Linked DNA regions of Homo sapiens: all the other regions are linked to region 7. The links are contacts of gene promoters, found by promoter capture Hi-C in blood cells and fetal thymus (Javierre and others, 2016). All regions are on one chromosome and are shown on one strand. Each heading gives the region's core, a stretch centred on a gene start or on the middle of the fragment in contact. The rest is flanking DNA. Distances are from core to core; before and after follow the strand shown.

The links. The method cuts DNA at HindIII sites, captures the fragments that hold promoters and counts their contacts. A CHiCAGO score of 5 or more calls a contact.
Region 1: a contact is called between a fragment that was not itself captured here and the fragment with the promoter of PPIL4 in region 7, in 15 of 17 cell types (non-activated CD4 T cells, naive CD4 T cells, activated CD4 T cells and 12 more). The highest score is 23.5, in non-activated CD4 T cells.
Region 2: a fragment that was not itself captured here is called in contact with the fragment with the promoter of PPIL4 in region 7 in 7 of 17 cell types (non-activated CD4 T cells, naive CD4 T cells, activated CD4 T cells and 4 more); the score reaches 14.4 in non-activated CD4 T cells.
Region 3: a contact is called between a fragment that was not itself captured here and the fragment with the promoter of PPIL4 in region 7, in 12 of 17 cell types (naive CD4 T cells, non-activated CD4 T cells, total CD4 T cells and 9 more). The highest score is 32.7, in naive CD4 T cells.
Region 4: a fragment that was not itself captured here is called in contact with the fragment with the promoter of PPIL4 in region 7 in 1 of 17 cell types (activated CD4 T cells); the score reaches 5.4 in activated CD4 T cells.
Region 5: a contact is called between a fragment that was not itself captured here and the fragment with the promoter of PPIL4 in region 7, in 3 of 17 cell types (naive CD4 T cells, naive CD8 T cells and total CD4 T cells). The highest score is 7.8, in naive CD4 T cells.
Region 6: a contact is called between a fragment that was not itself captured here and the fragment with the promoter of PPIL4 in region 7, in 6 of 17 cell types (naive CD4 T cells, non-activated CD4 T cells, total CD4 T cells and 3 more). The highest score is 9.7, in naive CD4 T cells.

What each region holds. Positions count from the first base shown.
Region 1 is chr6:149,051,873-149,055,723 of GRCh38, reverse strand. All of the region lies in intron 7 of UST (uronyl 2-sulfotransferase), which reads right to left. Among named protein-coding and RNA genes, the nearest start is that of UST-AS2, 21 kb to the right of the region's middle. RefSeq lists an enhancer at 1,190-1,309. The HindIII fragment of the contact is 1,155 bases long and covers 1,842-2,996 here.
Region 2 is chr6:149,086,639-149,090,476 of GRCh38, reverse strand. No RefSeq gene overlaps it. Among named protein-coding and RNA genes, the nearest start is that of UST-AS2, 56 kb to the right of the region's middle. The HindIII fragment of the contact is 3,416 bases long and covers 604-3,838 here.
Region 3 is chr6:149,068,338-149,072,086 of GRCh38, reverse strand. All of the region lies in intron 7 of UST (uronyl 2-sulfotransferase), which reads right to left. Among named protein-coding and RNA genes, the nearest start is that of UST-AS2, 38 kb to the right of the region's middle. The HindIII fragment of the contact is 7,123 bases long and covers 1-3,749 here.
Region 4 is chr6:149,171,870-149,175,923 of GRCh38, reverse strand. No RefSeq gene overlaps it. Among named protein-coding and RNA genes, the nearest start is that of TAB2-AS1, 84 kb to the left of the region's middle. The HindIII fragment of the contact is 3,422 bases long and covers 578-3,999 here.
Region 5 is chr6:149,154,592-149,158,373 of GRCh38, reverse strand. It overlaps LOC124901426 (a long non-coding RNA gene), which reads right to left. Exons shown (of 2, transcript XR_007059807.1): 2 at 1,768-2,088. Among named protein-coding and RNA genes, the nearest start is that of TAB2-AS1, 100 kb to the left of the region's middle. The HindIII fragment of the contact is 1,771 bases long and covers 1,616-3,386 here.
Region 6 is chr6:149,121,851-149,125,927 of GRCh38, reverse strand. No RefSeq gene overlaps it. Among named protein-coding and RNA genes, the nearest start is that of UST-AS2, 91 kb to the right of the region's middle. The HindIII fragment of the contact is 560 bases long and covers 2,034-2,593 here.
Region 7 is chr6:149,544,546-149,548,131 of GRCh38, reverse strand. It overlaps PPIL4 (peptidylprolyl isomerase like 4), which reads left to right and starts at 2,089. Exons shown (of 13, transcript NM_139126.4): 1 at 2,089-2,196. The coding sequence starts at 2,127. RefSeq lists enhancers at 520-1,196, 1,900-2,199. The HindIII fragment of the contact is 2,652 bases long and covers 1,201-3,586 here.

The sequences.
Region 1 (3,851 bases), core at 1,170-3,669, 490 kb after region 7:
TGGGAGTGATAAAGGGGAAATGAAAAAGAAACAATCAGCCAATGCTAGAAAGGCCATTATGTGAATTAGAAGCAGGTAAGAAAGAGGTGCTAGTGTTACTAAGAAACGTGCTCAAAGGTATCATTAGGTTCCGTTAGGATTGGTTCACTTTGGAAACTGCATTAGAGACAGGTGGGGGAGGGGACAGGAGAAACGGGTAACTTGAATGACATTCAAAGCATTCTTAAAAAGTGTGTTCAATGAATGGAAAATCAAAGATGTTTGAAAGAGAAAAGTCAACAAATGGAAAAGCTGTAACCCATTCCATTTTAGTTTAGTTTTATTGGGGCATGAAATGAAATTTCATAATGTTCTAAAAACAACAACTTAACTGCATAAAACTGAATAAGTGAACCGGCATTAAATCCATACTGTATTTTTTAAAATCTCATTTTGATATAATAATAGTAACTGGTTAGTTAGGTCATAGTCCTCTTCCTCAAGTCACGCACAGTTAAAGAAATATTTCTAAAAATTTCTAATTGCTCCTACATTCTAGCAAAACCATACATCGACTTGCTGGTTGATTTATGACTTTCTAGTAACCTTTACTCTCAAATGGCTTCTACCAAATGATTTATTTACTTGGTCTATGCTGAGGTAACCTCCTGGCTGGGCTGACTGCCGTCCTTTCAGCTCGAAGTGTAAAGGATTGAGTCCCCTCACTAAGACATTTCTTGAGTTTCTGTGAGAGCTGTGGGTTCTCATGCGATAAACCATGAGTCTTAGGTTCAATTTTGAAATGTCTCTCTTTCAGATTGCTTGAGCCGGGGAGGTCTAGGCTGCAGTGAGCTGTGACTGCACCACTGTACTCCAGTCTGGGCAACAGAGTGAGACCTTGTCCAAAACAAACAATAAACAAACACCCAGAACAAATAAAAAATGTCTCTCCTTCCTCGTCATTTCTCTTTGGAGAAAAAAGAAAATCTTTGACAATTTCTGACCCACTGAACAATGTAAAGTGGCAAAGTTTCACACTTTTGCCAAAGGCTTCTAATTTCAAGCCTTTTTCTGGTCCACGGTGGTGCTTCACCTCACTCTTGTCTTTCCTGCCCAGTTTCCTCTCTTAGATTACAAACTTAATCTACTAAATGCCTGCCCCCCGACAATAGCAGAGTTTTATAAGATCTGTATAAAGTCATTAGTTTTCCCATTAAGCATCGGTGTCCCCCAACTCCAGCCTGTAAGATGCACACAGTATCTGGAACCACAGAAGATTGCTAAGACAATGTTAGGTGTCTGACACCTTTTAGCTATAAGTGCAAGATGATGTGGTTGAACATCAAAGGCTGTGGAACATGCAACCAGGAATCAGCATATCCTCATTGAAAACTTTTACACCATTTCTACCAAAAAAGATTAAATTCTAATTGAATGCTACTTACTCATCACTTCTTGAGTTTTACATGTGACAATAAAATGAAGGCCTACTGGTTACTGGTTGGCTAGAAGGGAAAGCAAGTGAAAGCTCTTTGGCTCTTCTTTGGGTAGATTTAATTCTACCGCACCCCCCTCCCTTTCTGAACATTTACAAAACCCTCAAGTACTTTTCTTTCCCTCCTTCTCCATTTTTTTCCCACGAGGTCCAAAGTCCCAGGGAGGGAGCTGCTGGGCATGGGGGGATGGGGTGAGAATAGGGTAGGGAACCACAGCTGCTCTCAAATTGTGCTGGTGTCTTGGACAGGGGTGACAGATGGTGGCAGGAGAGCCATTATTCCCACCCTGCCAAGCTCATGACAGCCATTTCACAGAGGTCACGGCCAGGCTCCACCTGACAATACTTGTGCCAATGTTTCTAAGCTTCTGTGACCAACTGTCCAAAAAGGCACTAGATATGAGCCCCAATTCTTGTACTTTTTAGCTGAGAGAATGCTTTGAAGGCTTTTCAACCATCAGGCTTCTGTGCATTCCCTGAGGTATTTAGACCCGGTGCTTCGATAAATTAGTGGTTGCAACTGAGCACATAATTCCTTATATCCACTTAGAATGTTTATGAGATAATTAGTTCTCAATTTCATACAGCACCATCGGTTCACCTCCTGATCAGACAGATACATGAGTGGCTATTTTTTTGGAAGTATGGCAAACATAGTTGAAGTCAGTTGACATTAGGTTATACCTCATAGAGCATATAGTAAATAAGTCATATCCATAATTGTCATAGAAAAAACACACAACACATAAGTTTGGGTTTATAGCCACAAAGAGGAACATAGAAGACAGGGAAAAATATGACCCTGAACATGAGCATGGAATGTTTTCAAACTTATTGATATTCACAGTCTTTATTCATAGCATCTTGATGGGATTCATGAGTAACAAAGGGCTTTGTGGAAATATCTGAAGGCCAATAATTCTTTTTAACAGACTAACAAGACCAAATTACTATTAAATTGATTTCAGTAGTTGGTAACCGTACTTATTTCTGGTAGACTACATATTTCAATAAACAACTTTAAAAACAAATGTCACTGAATGTCAATTCACTATAAATTTAACAGTGAATATGTCATAAAATATTTTTATATCTAAACAACTAAAATAATAATAGGACCCTAAAAAGACTTTTAAAAAGTGTTCATTAATCAAGTTTTGTTCTATATGATAAATGATGTACTCTAAGAATTTCTAAAACTCCAATAGATACTTGCTGTAACTAAACTGGAAAGGGTTCCCATTTTTGCTTTGCTATTTTAGAAAAATAAGGAGTATTCCTTGGATTGTTTGCTTTCTTAAATTCCACTCTCCGATTCATTAAAACCCTTATGAAAACCAAAGTTGCTGACATGACTGAAACAAATGGCTTTACTGTTAACCAGATTGAGTCTTTGCAAGCACTTTATTAAAGCGATTTTAGTAATTCCAACTAGTAAAGTCTTCCCCCACCAACAAAAAAATAAAACAAAGTAACACATTTAGAATATCAATGAACATCACCTCAACAGAACCACTAAGCTTTCCAGAAACACTGTGTTCTTGAGAATTCAGCAGAATAACATTTCATAGAATCCTACTTTTCTAGCTACCCCATCTCCCTCAGATAATCATGTTTTAGATTTTGCCCTTTTCAGAGAGAGAGAGAGAGAGAGAGACCAGTTAAGAGCTTACGAGCACGGGGTTGCAAGTCACCTGGGCCTGGGTTGAATGTTCAATCACTTGAGTGCTGCTAGCGACCAGCTCAGTAACATAGAAGCGTTATGAATCATCTCTAAGTTGGTGGTTTCCTTATCTGTACAATGGACATAATAATAGTATCTTCCTCACAGGGTTGTTCTTAGGATTAAATGAAATAGTACATCTAAAGGACTTAACAAGATTCCTGAGACACAAGAAGCTCCCAATGAGTGTTAAATATAATAACAACAACTATTAATATTATGACTGTTATCCTCAAAATATATTCCCTTGAAACATCAGTATTCTGCCACTGAAATAGAAAAATGCTAATCTCCCCAAATGAAACAATTAATTTCAATTTAGTTGAAACTTAATGTGTTAATGATACTTTATGAAATTACAGACATCAAGACTTTGAGATGCTCTGCTCCTATAAAATTTTAAGGTCTGGTGGTTCAGTGAAAGTAAAGATTCATATCCCTTACAGTATACATGTGCATTTATAGATCAACTTTCCCCACCTATACATTCATTAGGTGCATAAAATTCCAAAGCACTTCTTGATCATGAATACCGTATAATCTATAATTATTTAATTCTGTAAAAATGTCAAAAATATATTTTGGATGTTTCACATATTTTCCCCTCCCTAATAGAGTTCCATTTGGGTAGTACTATCTCTTTTCTATTCATTT
Region 2 (3,838 bases), core at 1,062-3,561, 460 kb after region 7:
TAAATACAAAATCACATCTTTTTAAATTTGGAGATTATGGTCTTAGTTTTTTAATGTGAAAATGTCTATTCTTTGCCCCAAATCATGGTGACGGTAGATAGTAATTCCCTTCTCTCCTCTTCCTTTTTTTGCTTCATATTTTTACTTGACCAATGGGGAAAGGAAGCTGACAGTCCTATTTTGGTTCCATGTTTCTATTAATTTTTTTTTCTTGGTTCATAAATCAAAAGTCTGGGACCCCTGCTTTACACAGAGTAACTCATCACAGCGAAAGAATAGCATAGCGACTGGAACGCAGGGCCGCAGCCGTGTCCTAGGTAACATGCTGATCATTCGATTTAGGATTTACTAACTGACACTGTACAATTGGTTCGAGTTTGGTGATAAGCTTTAAGTACGACTACTAGGGACTTCTTAGTCAAAGGTCATCTCTTCTCTAATCTGAAGCTTCTTCTTCCTTTAAGATTCCCACTTTCCTTCCTGGTTGTGCCCGTATATCTGGGTTCTAGTTTCTTAACTCAATAGAATGTGTTAATCAGCTAATATTCTTCTGAACTCATTTTTATTCTGTTCTATACACAGTTATTTTTCTAGGTGGAAGCTTGAACATATTTTTTCTATATTAAATAGTCTCATGATTTTTACAAATGGTATGAAATTGCTACAGGCCATATTAAATATTACAATGCCCTTAAACTTGAACAAAGCCAGTCTGGGACAGACAGTAAGTCCACAGCCTGACAGGCAGCACCCCCTTGCTGACTGTACATTCCGTTGCGTTAATCAGCCGTGGGACAGAGCCACTGCTGATGCCGCTCCTCTTTTGAACACCGTCACCTGTGGGCTCAGGGCAGCTGCAGACCCTCCAGTCCCGGGAGCCACATCTTCAGACACAGCTCTGTGTCTGCGCCATACCAGTTTCAGGGCCTCCGGAGTGTCTCTCAGCTCTAAGTCCTGCAATTTCCTTTATGGATGCAGTAAATCATTCCACACACCATGGAGCAGAGGAACAGTCTGAATTATTAGACCTACCTGCTTGGCTCCTTTAGAGGGGGATTCTTATATTGAATGATTTTCCCTCTTCACTTATTATTATTTTTTAGATTTTTTAAATGTTTTTTTGAGACGGAGTCGCCCTCTGTCGCCCAGGCTGGAGTGCAATGGCGCGATCTCGGCTCACTGCAACCTCCGCCTACTGGGTTAAGTGATTCTCCTGCCTCAGCCTCCCAGAGTAGCTGGGACTACAGGGGCACACCACCACACTCAGCTAATTATTTTTGTATTTTTTAGTAGAGATGAGGTTTCACCACGTTGGCCAGGCTGGTCTCGAACTCTTGACCTCAGGTGATCCTCTCGCCTTGGTCTCCCAAAGTGCTGGGATTACAGGCGTGAGCCATGTGAAATGTTTACATAAAACACCCATAGAGCGTTCCTTAGAAGCTGACCAGGGGGATTCTGGTCATGTTGGGCCACTAGTGTTGGTTTCCCAGAGGTGGCAAGTCTCTGTCACTTTCTTTCTCTATCTCTCCTGTTTACTCTGCCCTCCTGTTTCTCACTCCAAGTTCTCCGCCTTCCTTTGCTCAGTGAAAAAGAATTAGTTCACTGCATTCATTCAGCCACTCACCCATTGGCTCATTTGTTCACTCCTTCATTCTGAGTGCTGCATTTAAGTGCCGTGGACACTGCAGTGAACAAGACAAGGTGTTGCCCTCACAGAGGGTGTGGTCTGGGGGGTGAGACAATGGTTAAATGAGCATTTACAATGTAGCGTGGTGAGCGCTACCCTTGGGGGGAGCACCAAGGGGCTTCTGGAGGCACTGAAGCAACAGAGATGACGCAAAGCGGCTCAAGACCTGAGAAAGCGCTGTTCAAGTGGCAGCTGCAGCTTGTTCACCCTCAGCCTGGGCTCCCTGGGGCAACACAGACCCAAGGTGAGCTGAAATTGTACCCGCAGTTCTTCTTGAGCAAGAAAGGGTTTTCCTGGTGGAATTCCACAACTGAGTTGGAAAAATAAAGATTAAGATACAAGCGTGTGCCGAGGGACAGAGAACGTGACTTCTGTGAAGTGGAGAGAAGAGAGCTATGCTGCACAAAGTGGAAAGGAAACTTTGTCACCGTTAAATAAATGTAACCAGAACAGACTCAAGGAGGGCTCTGAAGGGTGGAGTCCACTGAAGTTGTGTACAATTCATTATGGAAGCGAGACTCGAATAATAGCTGACTTAGTTTAATTTATATAGGTGAATCAATAATTTGCCTGAGAGATCCAATTTTGGGTTTAAATGATCTGAATAGTCTTGCCCTAAAATCAAGCTCTGTCCAGGAGCCCTAGTGATTGAGGCAGTGGAACAGCTCTGGGCTAAACTGGTTGGGTCAGCTCTATCCACGCCTTTGTAAGCTGTTTTAACCATTTCACAAGAGTGAGGCATGATGTGAGGTTAAGGGAGCTTTCCTGTGATGGGAGGCTGGGGAACGGGACGGCTCACCCACAAGCTAAGGGTCTGGCTTGAGCATTTGTGGTTCAAGTGCATGTATTTGCAAGGTACGGTTTGCCTTGTGTCAATGAACCTTTAAATGTCACCTGAGATCAGTTAAAAGTAAAATATTAAATATGTAGCAGCTGTGAATGTATTGTAATTTATGTGAAAGTGCTTTGAAAACTTAAATGCTGTAGTGTTTAACCTTTTTCTTTGGTAACAGACCATTTTGAGAATCTGATGAAAATATGGACCCCCTTCCCAAAAGAAGTACATACCAATATGCTTATACCTTTATGATTCTCTACACAAATTCAAGAAGTTCACAGATATTCTGATGTCACAGCTTCCCTGATATAGAGATTTATAAGTATAAAATGTTATTGAGTATTCTTTTTACATATTAAGTGAATGGTGGTATGTAGAGTTTTATATTTAACATGATCTCAATGATATTATATGTATAGAAAAGGATATACGCACATGGAACAGACTGGAAGGATATGCACTAAAATGTAAATAGTGCTTATATTTGGGTGATGAGATTGTGGGTGATCTTAATTTTCTTCTCTAAGTCTTGTTTGAAAATTTTTTCACTATTTTATTGTTAACAAGTGTCGCTGTGCCTTGTGACAGGCTATAGAAATACTGGGCAGAGCTTTCAAAAGCAAATCTAGGCTGGGCGTGGTGGCTCATGCCTGTAATCCCAGCATTTTGGGAGGCCGAGGCGGGCAGATCATGAGGTCAGGAGTTCGAGACCAGCCTGGCCAACATGGTGAAACTCCATCTCTATTTAAAATACAAAAATTAGCTGGGCATGGTGGTGTGTGCCTGTAATCCCAGCTACTCAGGAGTCTGAGGCAGGAGAATCACTTGAACCTGGGAGGCAGAGGTTGCAGTGAGCCAAGATGGCGCCACTGCACTCCAGCCTGGGCGACAGACAGCAAATCTAAAAAGACCCTGTAGTGGAACCTCTTTTGGGTGGCGGCTTTGTTCACAGTAGTCTCCCGTATTCTCTGTTTCACTTATTGAAGTTTAAGTTACCCTCAGTTAACCTCGGTCCAAAAATATTAAGTTATTTGGCCTGGGGGTGGGTGGTAGTGGGTTGGGGGAGGGGGAAGCACATTCACTTACTTTTATTACAGTATTTTGTTATAAGTGTTCCATTTTATTATGAGTTATTGTTAATCTCTGATAGTGCCTAATTTATTAATAAAAATTAAACTTTTTTCATAGGTATGTATGTATAGAAAAACACATAAGCATATACACGGTTTGGTACTATTCTTGAGTCCAGGCAACGACTGGGGGTCTTGGAACATATCTTCCTTATCCACGAGGACTACTGTATTTACCAGTCT
Region 3 (3,749 bases), core at 558-3,057, 480 kb after region 7:
TGAAGGTTCCAATTTCTTCGAATTCTCTCCTACGATTGTTATTTTCCTCCCTTTTTAAAATTGTAGCCATCCCAGTAAGTGTGGAGTGGTATCTCACTGTGGTTTTGATTTGCATTTCCCTAATGACTCCTGTAGTGATGCTGATGCTAATGGTTTCCCTAATTTCTAATGACCTTTTCATGTGCTTTTTGACAAGCATGTGTCCAACAAATGCTGTTTGTTTGTATATCTTCTTTAGAGAAATGTCTATTCAAGTCCTTTGCCCATTTTTGAAGTGGGGTTTTTTTTTGTTTGCTTTTGTTTGTTTTTATTGTTGAGTTGAAGGAGTTATTTACATATTTTAGATAATCTGCACATATATCAGGTATATAATTTACAAATATTTTCTTCCATTCCACAGGCTGTCTTTTCACTCTGTTGATAGTGTTCTTTGATGCATAAAAGTTTTTAATTTTAATGAAGACTATTTTATCCATTTTTCTCATATTGCCTGACTTTTGGTGTCACATTAAAAAAAATTGCCAAATCCAAGGTTGACATATAGAAGTTTTTAATTGTAATGGAGACCATTTTATCTGTTTTCTTCTTATTGCCTGTCTTTTGGTGTCATATTAAAGAAGCCATTGCCAAATCCAAGGTCATGAAGATTTGCCCTCACATTTTCTTTTATAATCTTGCTTTTGACTAAAATTTTTGTCAACAAATTTGAATAGGTATATAATTTACTAAATACAGTTCCAAATGGCTATTTCCAAAATCAGACTCATCTGAAAGGACATAGACTTCCCAATTTTTAGGATATTTGAGGTACCTTCTGAAGCCTTCAGTAGCAATTCTAAAGAAGGAATTTGAAAAATTCTCTATGTAGAGGCTAAGAAGGGTAGTGGGGGATTGGGGACAGGTGGGGATGGTTCATAGGTACAAAAAAAATTGAAAAATGAATAAGACCTATTATTTGATAGCACAACAGGGTGACTATAGCCAATAATAATTTAATTGTACATTTAAAAATAACTAAAAGAGCCGGGTATGGTGGCTCATGCCTGTAATCCCAGCACTTTGGGAGGACGAGGCAGGTGGATCACGAGGCCAAGAGATCGAGACCATCCAGGCCAACATGGTGAAACCCTGTCTCTACTAAAAATACACAAATTAGCTGGGCGTGGTGGCATGCACCTGTAGTCCCAGCTACTCGGGAGCCTGAGGCAGGAGAATTGCTTGAACCCGGGAGGCAGAGGTTGCAGTGAGCTGAGATTGCGCCACTGCACTCCAGCCTGGCGACAGAGCGAGACTCTGTCTAAAATTAATAATAATAATAATAAAATAACTAAAAGAGCATAACTGGATTGTTTGTAATGCAAAGGATAAATGCTTGAGGGGATGGATACCCCATTCTCCATGATGAGATTATTATGCATTGCATGCCTGTATCAAAACATCTCATGTACCCCATTAGGTATTAATTAAAATAAAAAATAAATAAATTCTCTATGTGGCCAACAGCCTCATTGAATAAGGGTATTACTTTTCAAACTGACTCTTTTGAAAGTCCTTTGCCAGGTTGGGTCCTTTGCACAGGGGAGCCTAGATCCTTGTAAATAGATAACATGGTCTTCATTGAAATTAAAAACATAACACACATTGAACACTCTAGAATTTCTGTTAAATAACTTGGCATAGACTCTTCTGAAATGGGTTCCTAACAGAACATTTTATAATATCTGTCTTCTCTGAAGATATGAACTCTAGCTAATCTGGGGCGGGTCATTGTTCACAGGTCTTAGGTGTTCCTTTTTGTTTTTTAAAACAGAGCTAAAAAATCTTATGAAAGACAGACAAGAAATAAAGAGTTTTAAGTCAAACATTGAGAGGCAGAGGAAAAATAATTCTCTCATTGAAAGCCTCCTTCAATCCCTTCCTCTTAGAGCACTATACATTGTGTAGGGTTTTGTTATCTGATACACAAAAAAGTAAGACTCCTGTGATTTAAAATAAATTCATTACTTAAATTATTTGGCCCAACCTGGCAAAGGATCCAAGGGGATAAGCAAAAGGGAGCCTAGATCCTTGTAAAGAAGTAATTTGGAAATCTGTTCTATTTCACAGCCTCAAAGCTCTTTGTCGTAAGGTTGAAACAGTAATTTCCTAAAAACAATGGACAGCAAGTGTAATCATATAAATACCTTGACTACAAAACTATCTGAGAAATACCAATCACATTTTACTAGTCTTCAATCACTTGCAAAATGTTGGTCTATATAATGGATTGAGTTGATTTGCTATATAAATGGTTATTAATTTCAGGCCAGAAAAACTTTGGGAATATTCTTTAAAGTTACAGCATAATGGGTTTATACATTTCTTTCTTTGATTACGATTAGGTGACTGGGTCAACTGCCATAAGGTTACTCCTAGTTCATGACAATAAAACTCTCTTCCCTGAATGCCTTCCTCTATGGTTAGGATGGGGGAGTTGGTGGATGGGCAGAGCAGGTAAATAACTCTGTCAAAAGTGACATTATATCCTTCCGAATAGACATTTCTCAAAATAAGACATACAAATGGCCAAGAGGTATATGAAAAAACTCAACATGCTAATCATCAAGGAAATGCAAATCAAAACCACAATGAGCTATCATCTTACTCCAGTTAGAATAGCTATTATTAAAAGCCAATAAATAACAGATGCTGGTGAGGATGTGGAGAAAAGGGAACTCTTATACACTGTTGGTGGGAATGCCAATTAGAACAGCCACTATGGTAAACAGTATGGAGAGTTCTCAAAAAACTAAAAATAGAACTACCATGATCCAGCAACCCTTCTACTATGTATCTATCCAAAGGAAATGAAATCAACATATCAAAGGGATACCTGCACTTGCATGCTCACGTGTTTACTGTAGTAATATTCGCAGTGGTAAAGATATGGAATCAACCTGTGTCCATCAATGAATGAATGAAGAAAATGTGGTATTATACACAATGGAATACTATTTGGCCATAAAAAAGAAAGAAATCATGTCATTTGCATCAACATGGATGGAACTGGAGGTCATCATGTTAAATGAAATAATCTAGGCACAGAAAGACAAAGATCGTGTATTTTCACTCATATATGGGAGCTAAAGAAGTTGACCACAAGGAGGGAGTAGGATGATACATACCAGAGGCTGGGAAGGATGTCTGGGTTGGAGAGCGGGCTGAAGAGAGGTTGGTTAATGGGTACAAATGTACAGTTATATAGAAGATGTAAGTTCTCATGCTCCATAGCAGAGTAGGGTGACTATAGTTAGCAACAATGTATTGTATGTTTCAAAGTAGCTAGAAAAAAAAATTCAAATGTTCCTAACACATAGAAATGATAAATACTCAAGGTGATGGATACCCTAAACACCCTGATTTGATCATTGCACATTCTATGCATGGAAAAAAATATCATACATATCCCATAAATATGTAAAATATTATACATCAATAAAATGTGATATTGTGTCCTTCAAGTACAAGTGAAAAGAACCAGGACATATTTGCACGATTAGTTAACTGATATGGTGCGAGATGGTGACAGTCCTGGCTGAGCCTAATGCTTTGTGGTATATTTTTATAGTAACAGCTACAGTTAATGGGAACTAATGTGTAGCAAGCACTGAGCTAAGCACTTGTACACACAATCATACTTAATCCTCACAATAACCCCTTGATGGAAGAGCCATTTTATACATGAGGAAACTGAGGCCAAGGCTATAACT
Region 4 (4,054 bases), core at 1,039-3,538, 370 kb after region 7:
AATTTGTGCTGTTTTTGGCCACTGTGTTTGGTAATTTTCTACAGCAACAATAGGAGACTCATACAGGTGCAAAGGCAGCTCACATTTCCCTCCTGCTCAAAGCAGGAGATTATCCTGGATTATCCGGGGGTCCCAATGTAATCACAGGGTCCTTATAAGAGGGACTCGAGAGGGTCAGAGTCAGAGGAAATGTGACAACAGAGCAGGAGGTAAAGTCAGAGAGAAAGATCTGAAGGTCCCCATGTTGCTGTCTTTGAAGATGGAGGAAAAGATACAGGGAATGTTGGCGACCTCTAGAAACAGAAAAGGCAGTGGAATAATATTTTCCCTAGAAACTGCACAAGGAATACAACCTGCGGACACCTTGATTCTATGCTTTCTGACCTCCAGAACAATAAGACAATACATTTGTATTGTTCTAAGCCACTTAGTTGGTGATAATTTGTTATAGCAACAATAGAAAACAGATCTATGAATTGTTGAGCAGAGAATTCTCTAAATTTGCTTGATAAATATACTCAAATATGAATATGGTTCATTTTAACATTAAAATATTGTTGAAAAACCAACCCAAGCTTATTCCATTATAATCCTCCTACAAAAATATTATTAATATTTGTATCTTTCTTACTGTGGATGATTGGTTTTTAGCTGATGAAGAGTTCAAGTAATGTGTGGAAGTGGCAGCTCTGCTATCCTTTTGGTGTTGACTCGATGTTGCATTATTCATTGTCTTCAGTGTTTTCAAGTTGCTTGTCTATTTTGAGGTGGTTTATTTGGTTAAACTCAGGTACTATGATTCATAAATATACCTAACCAGATACAGGAAAGGCACAAAATATCAGAGTATGCTGCCAAGGAGAGCAGGGGCTCTCAAACCTTCCCTTGGGACACTGCTGGAGATAACCCTGGCCTGGGTGACAGGATGGGGACAGAGAGTGACAGGGTAGTACAGATTTGTTATCGCTGCCACACAAAAGGCATTTAAAAAAATTCTAGCCTCTCAAAATTGACCTATAGCAATCTGGAGAGAAGAACTTGCTTCTGATGTAATATTATTTTAGAGTAGTCTCTAAAGAGCTTTTCCATGTTTGAAAACTCTTATATGGGAACATTTATCAGAACCAGTCCAAGGCAGCGTCAGAATCTCCATTTCAGCATGCATGAAAAGGAAGAAATTGTGAACAGGTAAAAGCTGGCTAGGCAACTACTGTTTAAGTGCCTAGTAAGAGCATTGGAAAGTGGGGCTCCTTTCCATGGAGTGATGAAATCTAAGAAAGACGTGCGAAATTTTATAAAACCAAATCACTGATTAGTAACTTCAGGGGGATGGCCTGTGCAGAAGGGCCCTTTACCGAGTCCGAACACACAAAAAGCATGATTATCAAAGCACCTTTCAGCAAAGTGAGGACTTTGAGGAAGCTCAGAGACAGAATCTGAGATGTTGTTTGTATGAGGTTCCAGGCTTTTCCATGGGCTGCAGTCTTTGTTGCCTTCCTTTCCATGGTGTAGTTTCAATGTCCTACCCTCCAACTGAGCAATCTGTCAGGCCAACTTCCACAGCTCCCTTAGGACTCAGCTTACTTTTCCCTTCCATAGAGTCTACCCTGCAAACTTCAGCACCCAAAGAGAAGCCCCTTGTAGCTGCAAGGGCTGCACTTGCGTTTGCTCTATTATAATACATTTGCTAGACAGACTTACCCATCACCTTACCCAGATGGTGACCTGCTGAAGGGGAAGGACCGCATCTTTTCAACCTTGCAATCTCTGTGCTTAGTATAAGACATAGCTCATTATAGGCATTCACGAAATCTTGGTTGAATAAATCAATCATAAGCAGTCTTTTTATATACTTGGAGCAAAGGCTTCTCCCTGCCTCACATCACCTCCTTTCCTTCCTCCTTCTTGTTCTTTGATTGTAGTCAGTATTTACTCACTGGACATCCTGGAACTTCAGTGATCACTGGTAGAGGGAGAGGCAACAACTTCAATGGAGAGTTATTGCATAGGAACCTCTACCTTCTCTTTTCCTCCTGCCTCCCCTGCCCCAGGCAGGCAGAGAGCATCTTCACAAGACCCCTACATGCAAAGTCTCCAGCTATAGCTCTTGTTCACGTCCATCCTCTTTGGCCAAATCCAGGAGTTCCGGGGTTCTTCTGAATTCACTCTCTAAAAACACCTAAGTCCCCGTGCTAGTTTCCTAGGAATGTTGTAAGAAATTACCAAAAACTGGGTGGCTTAAAACAACATATCTTTATTCTTTCTGGCCGGAAGTCTGAAATCAAGGTGTCAGCAGGGCCATGCTCTCTCTGAAGGGTCTAGGGGAGAAAGTGTTCCCTGGCTTTCTTTTGGCTTCTGGGGTTGCAGCAATCCTTAGTGTTCCTTGGCTTACAGCTGCATCACTCCCCTGTCTGCCTCCATCTTCACATGACTTTCTCCCTATGTGTCTCTGTGCTTCTATCTCTTCTCTTTTGTAAGGACACTAGTCATATTGCATAAAAGGCCCTCCTTAGGCCAATATGACATCATCTTAATTTACATCTTAAAAATATCTGCAAAGATCCTATTTCCAAATAAGGTCACATTCATAGGTTCCAAGGGTTAAGATGCAACATACCTTTTTGGGGAACACAATTGAACCCATAACAGCCCCTTTCTCTAGGGATCTGACCTCAGCTTGCTCAGCTGGGGATGGCCTTTGAGATGTTACTTGCCCCCTGTGACTGTAATAGTCAGCCTTGAGTCAGACAAACTCAGGGAAAGGGAAGCCTGTGATAGGAATACACACCTAAAAAATAAGTCGTTAACATCCTAGGGCAGGAGCCTAGCAGAGTCTGTCCTCGTGCGTGCTGGAGCTGGAAGGAGATTACTGATTTCAGGAGGTCCTGGGGACTTCAGCAGTCACAGTTGTGGAAATGTATTCTTATGCTCTTCCCTTAACCTGATTTGGAGTACGGCTTTTTTCTTGCCTCACAGCAAAAGTGGCTTCCAATCTCTATTCATTGATTTCAGTTCTGCTCCCTGTCTCCTGTCCCCGGCTCAAGTGCAGCTTGTTCTGGACTTGGCTTTTCCAGGCCCGATTCTGCCTCACGACCCTTCAGCTTTATGGTCCACTGTGAACTGACCCATTCTCATCATGTTACTTAGTTCACATGCTGTTATGGACTGAATGTTTCCCTCCAAAATTCATATATTGAAGCCCTAACCCCCGATATGATGGCCTTTGGAAGTGGAGTCTTTAGGTTTAGATGAGGTCAGGAGGGGAAGGCCCTAAGAAGGGATTGATTAGAGCACTTATAAGAAGAGTTAGAGAGATCAAAGCATGTACTCTTGTTCTTTCTTCCTTTCTCTTTCTCTAGACCATATTGGGACATGTCAGGAAGGTGGCCATCCATCTGTAAGCCAGGAGGAGTGCCCTCATGAAGAACTGAATCTGCTGGCACTTTTATCTCAGACTTATGGCCTCTAAATGATGCAAAAACAAGTATCTGTTGTTTAAATCACCCAGCGTCTGGCATTTCATTATAGCAGCCGGGCTGACTAAGAGACATGGCTGTGGAGAGATTCAGAGTGGCTTGGGTCCTCTGTCCGAGGCAGGCTCCAGGCCAGGCCTTGTGAGGGTCAGGCCTGGGATGCTGGTTCTGCGATTTCTCCTGGTCCAGGGTTGGACATAAATGTGTGTTTGTGTCCAGGAGTGGTGCTCTAACCCCAAGGCCCCCATCTGCAATGGTGGCATTTGAAACTTGACTGCTGGCCACTGAGACTTCTTGAGGCTTCTCCAAACAGAGCAAAGAGGCTGTCCTTGGTTCTTCTAGGATGAAGGACTCACCAGGTTGGGAACAGGAAACCTAGAGAAATTCTCAACATCCTTACAGGCAACTCTTGCAATTGTATATGGCACTGCTTGCTGGTTGAGAGAGGCTTGTAGTGTTTGTTCTCAGGACACTCACTGCGGCACTGTCCCCACATATGAAAACCAGGAGAGTGGGGATTTAAGCTTGTTTGTTTGCTTTTAAGCTGCAGAAGCATGCATTTTTCATAATGAGTAGAGGCC
Region 5 (3,782 bases), core at 1,252-3,751, 390 kb after region 7:
TACCCCTAAGCCATCTGGAGGTTTGACTCTTAAGCAATAGCTGCCAATTGTCCTTGCTTAGCACCCTGCGAATAAACGCCTTCCTTTCTCCTGCTGCAAACCTCAGTGTGGATATCTCATCTTACTGCGCCGGGCAGGTGGAGTCCAGTTTGGTTTGATAACATTAGGGGCTGGAAGAGTATGCATTCCTGTTATAGTCACAGTAAGACCCTAATGCTTGAGGTGACTTGGATGAGTTCCTTGAGCTGAAGGAGTTGAACGAGAGTGTGCGTCTTTGCATGGCACCATTCCTGATGTCCAAATTATATTTGTCGATGGAAGCCGAATTAAGTTTAACTGACTTCCTGCCTTTTCCTCAAGGATGAAATCTGTGAGAGAATTGTTGCTGCTGCTACTGATGGTGATCAAGATATTTAAATTGAACCGCATTTTAAGGTTTTAGTCCTTTATTTCATAACAAACACTGTGACGTAAATAGGTAGCTACAATTGCACATTCCAGCTAAGGTAGCCTCCCAAATTCCCAGAGGTTATCTAGGCATGCAAATTAAATTTAGCTGAATGCAAATGCACTTCCCTGCTTTGTTTCAATGTCCTGCAAATGAGAAAAAAAAAAAAAAAAAAAAAAAAAGAGAGAGAGAAAGACAAAGAAAAGGCCTTTAAAACATTTTCCTTCTTTCTCACTTTTCCATATCTTTCTGACTGGGGTAGTTCAAATTAGCATAACTCTAAGATACTATTTTAGATCACTTCTTCAAGTCAGTGCTCTTAAGACTGATATTGTCAAAGGGCAAAGGCTAAACCTGATATATATGTGCTGCTGCAGCCCCTGTAACAGAGCCTGGAACTCACTTAATTTTTTTTTTTTTAAGTGTGCCTGATCTTACGGATCCAAATGCCCAGTTCAGAGTTGTTAGATTGGAAGACTGTACACTTATTCCAATGATTCTACCATTAATCTAATCCCTTTTGGAATTATCTTATTGGAATTCCTATCCTAGACCAAGGCATGTGGTTTGAAAGATTTATTGGTGGCAAACTTTGGTTTTGCGAGAGAATCTGCTATTTAGAAAATGCAAAAGGCATCTGGTGCCCAGTCTGGTAAATAAGTTGAGTAATCTAACTTTTTAATCTGATTCATATGTGATTAGAAATGAACGAGACTAATTTTCTGATGTATTTCTCCATAAACTATATCTGAAAGCGATTCCAAAACAGAAATTTCACAGATGTTTCGAAGAATGGTGGTACCACTGGAATATGTTGTGTATCTAGGTGGGCATCCACCTTAAATGGAATTGCATTCCTATTATGCATATCGTTAAAAAATCTTACAAAGTTTTGAGACTAAAAAACAAAATTCCAAGCGGTCCTTATTCCATATTCATGGGCACTGCCTGGAATGGGCCTGATTGTTGTGATGAGTTTGAGTTTGTGGCCATTTTTGCTGGTCCTTATTCCATATTCATGGGCACTGCCTGGAATGGGCCTGATTGTTGTGATGAGTTTGAGTTTGTGGCCATTCTTGCTGGTCCTTCAAGGTAGCAGAAAGGATGGTGCTGGTATCTTAGCTGCTTGAGCCAATTATGTTTTTACTGGAATTGGAGTAACAAGCTTCTGTGCTGCCTATTAACTTCCTACATGCTGAGATGAGAATAGCTTGAAGCTGTGGAAAAATGCTGATATACTTAAAATAAAGAACCAAAATAGCCATATAAAGAAACCTCAGGGAATTTTAACCAAGAAATTACTGCCAAATAAATCTGCAGCCAGTCAAAATGCTGAATATTTTATTTTGAAAAGGAACTATATTTTTAGTCTCTGCCATGCTTGTCAACACTCCACTGTAATAATAAACTAAACCATTCATTAAAAAAAAAAAAGATGGAAGTGACCTTTTTCACAAACCCAATTAGCCACACCATGCATTAGTGGAGACAGAAATGCACAAGTGACTGTTGGCGATCATAAACACGAGGTCGGGGCATTTGTAGTTCATAACAAGGAATAAGAAGCATCTACTGTCCGATCGGAGTTCCACCAAAACTGTTGGCTTCTGTGGGCCCTTCCCACAACAACAAAAGATGAGCTGAAAAATAAAAGTCAACTCTGGTCATCATGGTAGTTCAGTAATCTTTTCTTCTCTCTTTTCTTCTTGAATGTTCATTTTATTGCATTCACTGTTGTGAGGTGAAAGGCTGAAGAAACTAATTATAAAAACAATATGCATCCATCTTAGATAATTTGGAAAATAAGCCAATAATAAAAAAGAAAATAAAAGTTACCCATCCCTCACCATTCAGAAATAATCGCAGTTAACATTTTGATATATTGCCTTCTTATCTTCTTTAAATGCATTATAGGTAAATAATTTAAAATACAATTAGGAGGATGCATATGATTTTGTTTTTTTCCCTTAGCATATTATACACATTTTCCTATGTGAGTAAATACTCTTCAAAAAGATAATTTTTAAAGGGTGCACAATAGCCAACCCCATGCATAGAACATAAATTCATCATTGGAATTCCTATTAATAGATATGCAACTTCTTTTCATTTATATTAATACATGTCTATAATGAATATCTCTTTATAATGTTTTATGTACTTGTATTAGTCTGTTTTCACACTGCTGATAAAGACATACCCGAGACTGGGTAATTTATAAAAGAAAGAGGTTTAATGGACTCACATTTCCACAAGGCTGGGGAGGCCTCACGATCACGGCCGAAGACGAAGGAAGAGCAAAGGGATGTCTTACATGGGAGAAGACAAGAGAGCATGTGCAGGGAAACTCCCCTTTATAGACCCATCAGATCTTGTGAGACTTATTTACTATCAGGAGAACAGCACAAGAAAGACCCACTCTCATGATTCAATTACGTCCCATGGGGTCCCACCCATGACACATGGGAATTATGAGAGCTACAATTAGAGATTTGGGTGGGGACATAGCCAAACCATATCAATACTGTTATGATTGTTTCCTTAGTATGCATTCTGAGAAGTGGAATTCCTAAGTCAAAGGATTCTGTGCATGTTTTAGCTAGTAAGTTTCTTGTTAAAAATAAATGATGCTTCTACTAATACATTGAAAATTATTATAATAATTACCCCCCTCCATCTACTTTTCTTTCAAAGATAAGCATTATCCCTTGAACCTCAGTATTATCAGTCCCATCTCTACTGGGTGCTGCCATATAAAACCAAACATGATATATAGGTTCACTGACATGGATAATTTGTCTCTCACCTCACTGTCTGCCAGAAGGAATATGGTGGAATTTGCTAAGGGATTCAAATGTATATCCAAGAAATGTGACAAATACTTTTGGGGTGCCTGAAAAGGTCAACCTCCATCCTTAGACAGGTGTCTGCATAAGCTTTCCTGAACAATGGGGCTGGGCATTTTATTTTTATAACAGGTAGATCAGGGATATCTGACTCTACCCAAAGCACTCAGATAGAAATCACAAAAGTTTGACTTAAGAGGCTACGAGACTGTATTCCATGAAGGTGACTTCTTCTAGAAGACTAAGCTGCAGCAGCCTTTTTGGGCCATGAGGACTGGTGATGAAGCAGAGAGAGCCAGAGGCAATCTGCAAAGGAAGCCAGAGGAGGGAGCAAAGGGACAGAGGGAAGCAGAGAGACATTGGGGTAGGATAGGGAAGGGAGAGAAAAATAGACAGAGCAAGGGTTTAGTTACCAAAGATTCGACTTCCTGTGTATATTCTTCAAGTTTCATGAAACACTCCTCTCATCTTGCAATAAGTTCTCTTTT
Region 6 (4,077 bases), core at 1,064-3,563, 420 kb after region 7:
AAATCATCATCTGTGAGATGATAAATACGTAAATTTGTTTTACTATAGCAAATATTTTACTATCTATGGTAACATAGTTGTGTTACTATAGATAACAAGAGCAGCTACAATCTACTTATTTAACAAAAATTCTCAATACCATATGATTTTATTAACTATAGTTCTCCCGTACATTAGATCTCTCGTCCTGTTCATCCTATGTATCTGCTACTTTGTGACTTGACCCCATCTCTCCATTTCCTCCCTTCCCCTGTCCCTCACTCTAGTAACCACTGTTTTATTCTATATCTCTGTATATTTAGACATTTTTTAAAAAGGATTCCACATATAAGTGGGATCATCCAACATTTTTCTTTCTGTGTCTGGTTTATCTCAGCATGATATCCTTTAGGTCCATTCATGTTGTGGCAAATGGTAGGATCTCCTTTTTTAAGGCTGAATAATATTCCATTGTGTGTGTGTGTGGATACATACAGCAACACTACATTTTCTTTTTTTCTTTATCCATTCATTTATTGACAGAGACTTGGGTTGTTTTCATATCTTGGCTATTGTGAATGATGCTGCAGTGAACATTGGAGCAGATATTTTTATGAGGTAGTGATTTTATCTCCTTCGGGTATATACCAGAAAAGTGGAACTTCTAGGCCATGCAGTAGTTTTAATTTTTAATGTCTTTAGGAACCCCCACACAGGCATACCTTGGAGATATTGTGGGTTGAGTTCCAGACCACCACAATGAAGCAAATATTGCAATAAAGTGAGTCACACCTTTTTTTTGTTCTCCATTAAAAATAAAAGTTATGTTTATATTGCACTGTAGTCTATTAGGTGTGTAATAGCATTTTGTCTAAAAACACAATGTACATACTTTAATTAAAAAATATTTTATTACTAAAACATGCCAATGATTATCTGAACCTTCAGTGAGTCATGATCTTTTTGCTGGTGGAGGGTCTTGCCTTGATGTTGACTATTGACTAATCAGAGTGGTGGTTGCTGAAAATTGGGGAGGCTATGGCCATTTCTAAAAATACAACAACAATGAATTTGCCACATCAATAAACTCTTCCTTTCATGACGGATTTCTCTGTAGTGTGCAATGCTGTTTGATAGGATTTTTACCTGTAGTAGAATTTGTTTCAAAATTGGAGTCAATCCTCTCAAATCTTGCTGCTGCTTTATCAACTGGGTTTATGTAATCTTCTAAATCCTTTGTTGTCATCTCAACAATGTTCACAGCATCTTCAGCAGGCTTAGATTTCATCTAAAGAAACCATTTTAGTTGCCCATCCTTAAAAAGCAAACTCCTCATCAATTCAATTTTTATCATGAGATTTTGGCAATTCAGTCCCATCTTCAGGCTCCACTTTTAATTCTAGTTCTCTTGCTATTTCCACCACATCTGCGGTTACGTCCTCAAATAAAGTCTTGGACCCTTCAAAGACATCCATGAGGGCTGGAATCAATTCTTCCAAACTCCTGTGAATGTTGATATTTTGACCTCCTCTCTTCAATCATGAATGTTCTCAATGGCATCTAGAATGGTGAATCCTTTCCAGAAGCCTTACAATTTGCTTTGCCCAGATCCATCAGGGGAATAACGATCTATGGCAGCTATAGTGTTACAAAATGTATGCTTAAATAACAGAACTTGAAAGGCTAAATTACTCCTTGATCCATGGGCTGCAGAATGGATCTTGTGTTAGCAGGCATTCATCTCCTTGTACATCTCCATCAGAGGTCTTCATGACCAAGTGCATTGTCAATGAGCAATAATCTTTTGGAGGGAATATTTTTTATCTGGGCAGTAGATCTCAACAGTGGGCTTGAAATACTCAGCAAACCATGCTATAAACAGATGTGCTGTCATCCAGGCTTTGTTTTTCCACTTATAGAACACAGGGAGAGTAGATTTAGCATAATTCTTAAGGGCCCTAGGATTTTCAGAATGGTCAATGAGCATTGGCTTCAACTTAAAGTCACCAGCTGCATTAGCCCTTAACAAGAAAGTCAGCCTGTCCTTTGAAGCTTTAAAGCCAGGCATTGACTTCTCTTCTTTAGAAATGAAAGTCCTAGAAGGTATCTTTTTCCAACTTAATGTTGTTTTGTCTACACCGAAAACCTGTTGTTTTGTGTAGCCATGTTCATCAATTAGCTAGATCTTCTAGATATCTTGGTACAGCTTCTATATCAGCACTTGCAGTTTCATATTGTATTTTTATGTTACGGAGATGGTTTCTTTCTTTAAACTTCATAAGCCAACCTCAGCTAGCTTCCAACTTTTCTTCTACAACTTCCTCATCTCTCTCAGCCTTCAGAGAATTGAAGAGAGTTAGGGCCTTGTTCTGGATAAGGCTTTGGCTTAAGAGAATGTTGTGGTTGGTTTGATCTTCTATCCAGACCACTAGCACCTTTTCCATATCAACAATGAGGCTTTTTTGCTTTTTTATCATTTGTGTATTCACTGAGTACCACTTTTAAATATCCTTCAAGAAATTTTCCCTTGCATTAACAATTTGGCTAACTGTTTGGTGCAAGAGCCCTAGCTTTTGGTCTGTTTTGGCTTTCAACATGCCTTCCTCACTAAGCTTAATCATTTCTAGCTTTTGATTTAAAGTGAAAGATGAGAGACTCTTCCCTTCACTTGAACACTTAGAGGCCATTGTAGGGTTATTAACTGGCCTAATTTAAATATATTGTATCTCAGGGAATATGGAGGCTTGAAGGAGAGAGATGGAGAAACAGCCAGCTGGTGGAGCAGTCAGAACACACACATTTATTGATTAAATTTGTCATCTTATCAGGGCATGGTTTATGGCGCCCTAAAAAATTACTGTGGCAACATAAAAGATCCTTGATGAGATCACCATAACACATATAATAATAATGAAAAAGTTTGAAAATATCGTGAGAATTGCCAAAATGGGACACAGAGACAGGAAGTGAGTACATGCTTTGGAAAAATTGTGTTGATAGACTTGCTTGACACAGAGTTGCCATAAACATTCAATTTGTAAAAAAGAAAAAAAAGTAGAATCTGCAAAACATTACAAAATGAAGTATGTCTGTAGTGTTTTCCATAATGGCTGTACAATCTATATTCCCACCAACTGTGGACAAGGGTTCCCTTTTCTCCAGACCCTCACCAACATTTGTTATCGCTTTCCTTTTTGATAATAGTCATCCTAACAGGTGTGAAATGATACCTTATGGTGGTTTTAATTTACATTATATTTTTACTTTTAGTCCCCATGTGTTCATTTCTAATATATAGAAATATAATTGGTTTTTGTATGTTAATTTTGTGTCTTGTGAACTTGCTGAACTCATTTATTTACTCTAGAAGTTTTTTTGTATATTCTTGGGATTTCCTATGTAGACAGTCTTACCATCTGCAAATAGGAACAGTTTTGTTTCTTTTTTTCCAATCTGTATGCCTTTTATTTCTTTTTCTTTTTCTTCACTTATTGCTCTGTCTAGCACTTGGAGCGCTATGTTGAATTAGAGTAGTGCATGTGGATATTCTTGCCTTGTCCCTAATCTTAGGTGGAAAGTGTTCAACGCTTGTAAATGGTATTAATACACCAATCAAAAGGCAGAGATTGGCAACGTGGATTTAAAAAAATCACCAAAATCTATCCTATGTACAAGAAACTTGCTTTAGTATAAGGATATAGGCAAGTTGGAAATAAAAAGAGAAAGAGAAAGTGGATTTTCAAGCAAAGAAAATTACCAGACACAGATAAAGACATTATATAATGATCAAAATGTCAATGCATCAAGAAGACATAATAGTTCACTCTTCTTTAGTTTCCAAGTCTCTGGAGATTTTCTTATCTTTCTGTTACTGATTTCTAGTTTGATTCTTTTGTGATCAGAGGACATACTCTGTATGATTTCAACTATTTTAAATTTATTGGGAGTGTGTGTGTGTGTTTATGACCCAGGGTATGTTCTATCTTGGTATATGTTCTGTAGGCACATGTAAAGAATGTGCATTCTGCAGTTGATGGGTGGTGTTGCTACTATCCTATGGGGTGAAGTCCTGTTCCCTTTTCAGCTTTGTCTGACATC
Region 7 (3,586 bases), core at 840-3,339:
GTTCAAGCAGTTCTCCTGCCTCAGCCTCCTGGGTAGCTGGGATTACAGGCATGCGCTACCACACCCAGCTAGTTTTTTTTTTTTTTTTTGTATTTTTTATTAGAGACGGGGTTTCACCATGATGGGCCCGGCTGGTCTCAAATTCCTGACCTCAGGTGATCCGCCCACCTCGGCCTCCCAAAGTGCTGGGATTACAGGCATGAGCCACCACGCCCAGCCATGAATATTGTGGTGGCAGTCGCTGTGGCGGGCACCTGTAGCCCCAGCTACTGGGGAGGCTGAGGCAGGAGAATCGCTTGAACCCAGGAGGCGGAGGTTGTAGTGACCTGAAATCGCACCACTGCACTCAAGCCTGGGCAACAGATCGAGACTCCGTCTCAAAAAAAAAAAAAAAAACCCAAACCGAAAAACCATATTTATTCATTCAACAAACATTTATTTGCACATTGTGTACCAGGCTGTCATACGCATTAGGGATATAGCTTTAAACAAAACAGACAAGATGGAATATCCTGGAACACACATTCTAGTAACAATAAACAAACAAACAAATTCGTAAATAGCATGTTAGATTGTAAAATGTACTCTGGAGAAAAAGCTATATGGAGAAAAAGAAGTGTCTGTGGGGTTAATTTTAATTATGGCAGCCATGGAGGGCCTCACTGACAGGGTGACCGACGCCAAAGCGCCTGAAGGAGGTGAATGGGAGCCATACAAATAACTGGAGGAAGAGGTCCCTCAACCAAGGCAAGTGAAAAGGCCATGGGGCAGGAGTATGTCAGCAGTGTTCAGGGAATAGCAAACTGTCTACTGTGGCTTCAGAGGAATAAGAAGATGGCGTAGGATGGGGTAGGAGAGGATCTTGTAAATCATTATAAAAGCTCTGGCTTTTCCGCCAGGTGCGGTGGCTCAAGCCTGTAATCCCAGCACTTTGGGAGGCGGAGGCGGGCGGATCCACGAGGTCAGGAGGTCGAGACCATCCTGGCTAACACGGTGAAACCCGGTCTCTACTAAAAACACAAAAAATTAGCCGGGCGTGATGGCGGACACCTGTAGCCCCAGCAACTCGGGAGGCGGAGGCAGGAGAATGGGGTGAACCCGGGAGGCGGAGCTTGCAGTGAGCCGAGATCGCGCCACTGCACTCTAGACTGGGCGACAGAGCGAGACTCCGTCTCAAAAAAAAAAAAAAAAAAAAAAGCTTTGGCTTTTCGTCAGATGTGAAGTTATTGGAGATTATGTGTAAAATGTCATAAGAAAGAGTGACAGGCTTGCCCAGAAGAGTGTCTGGGGAATAAACTTGCATGGCAAAATGTTAGTTTTGGCCAGGCGCAGTGGCTCACGCCAGTAATCTCAGCACTTCGGGAGGCCAAGGCGGGAAGAGTTCGAACTCCTTGAGCTCAGGAGTTTGAGACCAGTCTGAGCAACATAGTGAGACCACCTCCCCCGACCGCCATCTCTACAAAAAATAAAAGAACAAAATTAGCCGGGCGTGGTGGCGCGCGCCTGTGGTCACTTGGGAGGCTGAGACAGGAAAATCGCTGGAGCCCGGGAGGTGGAGGTTGCAGTGAGCCGACATCGCGCCACTGCACTCCAGCCTGGGCAACAGAGCGAGACCCTGTCTCAAAACAGAAAACAAAACAAAATGTTAGTTCTTAGAATCGGAAACCCCTAGTAGAGGCCCAAAGTTGTTTTGCGAAAAGGAGACTGACGAGGAAACCCGGAGGAGTCCGCCCAAATAGGTGGAGAGAAGATCCCGCCGCGGGCGCCCCCTGGTGGATAAAAGGGCCGCGCGGAGGGCCGCTCTGCTCTTGAGACGGACACAAACGGGGCACAAAACACTATACTGAGACCGTTCTGAGGGACAGGCTTCCACCAAAATCGCCAAGGGCGGACCAGGATTTTCAAAACGGCCGCGCCGGGGGCGGGACCAACCCGATCCGTAAGTCAGCTGGGCAGCCCGGCGCCCGCACGCCGACCGGAAGGAACTGCTCGGAACCGGGGGCGGCGCCGGCGAGATGACGCAAAAGGGGTCGCGCCGAGGGTGACGCGTGGCGTAGACGACGCCGTCGGCCTGCGCCTGTCACCCCCCTCCTCCCGGGGTTTGTAGCGGAGGAGGAGCGGGCGCCATGGCGGTTCTACTGGAGACCACTTTAGGCGACGTCGTCATCGACTTGTACACCGAAGAACGGCCGCGTGGTGAGGCTTGAGCCCCACTCACCTGTCGCCGGGGCCCCCGAGCTTGTCTCCCTACTTTCCCTTCTCTGCGCAGTCCAGGGCAGAGATTGGCTAGAGCTCGAGCTTCTGGGCTGCTGGTGCCCGCGACTGGGCTATTTTATTAACCGGCCTTGGCTAGAAAAGTTTTTGTGACGGGAATTCGTTTGAGCCTTGGCAGCCCTTCTCCCGTATTTTGTGTTGGCCAGTCCGGTGGACGGTGCTTGCGGTCATTAATTGCCTTTGGGAGTGTGTGTGTGGGGCGTGTGTGTGTGTGATTCGAGCTGCACATACAATACCCATAGCTTTTGTGCCTTTATTGTGTTTACTCGTGAGAGGAACATAGGAACTATTGCTTGGTGTGTAATCGGTTAAATCTTGATGAAGGCAGTTAGGGTGTGCTTGGCGCAGCGAGTGTGGGCATACCGCTTAGGTGGAGGAGGAAGAGGTTGTCTGGAGTGTGGACTGAGCCTTCGAGGCACTGGGCTAAGTCCTGGGCTTGGCTTCTTGCCCCCGAGGGTCTGATTTTTCCACTGGGGGAAGTAGACACAGGAACCCATTTTAGTTTTCTATGTGTTATGGTAGAAGAATGTGTAAGTTGCCACGGAAACCAGAAGAGGGCGGCTTCTTTGGTGGGGGGTGGGAAGAAGCAAAGCTAGCGAATACTATATAGAACACTTGAACTAGTTCTTTCAAAGATGAATGGGAATGAGGGTTTTCTTAGCTTGGACTTTCTTTGTTTGGAATTTTCTGGAAACGGCAAGTAGTTTGGTGTGGCTGGAAGGACTGGTGTGAGTCGTGGAATGGTAGACTCGAGTGTGGTCAGATACGCCTAGGTCAGTCGTGAATAGTCTTGTGTGCCCTACTGATGATCAGAGTCCTTGAAGACTTTAAAAGCAGGATTGAGGCATGGCATACTTGTTTTGAGAAGATAATAGGCAGCGGTGTGGAGAATGTATCAGAGTCAGGAAGAAACTGAGACCAGGAGAGATTAGTTACAAACAGGGTCCTACCCACATGGAATGCAGAGCCTATCAAAGAAGGTGAAATAAGTTGCAATATTGTACAATAACTACCTCCTGCCGTGCTCCGCTTTCCCTCGCACGCAGCTATTCCTCCCTCCTCTCCACCTGGCGAAAACACTACAAACTCTCCCGTACCATTGTTACCATTCTTTTGCTGTTTCTTCTAAACAATATTCTTCTCCACTATTGTCCTTCTGGCAAACTTACTACTTATTATCTAAATCTCAGATCAAGCATCATCTCTTCTTTGAAGCTCTCCCTCCTTTCTAAGCAGAGTTACCTGAGGGTTCCTCTGCTGTGTCTTAGGTCTTTTATAAACCACATGACACATTTTATTTTAACATTTACCT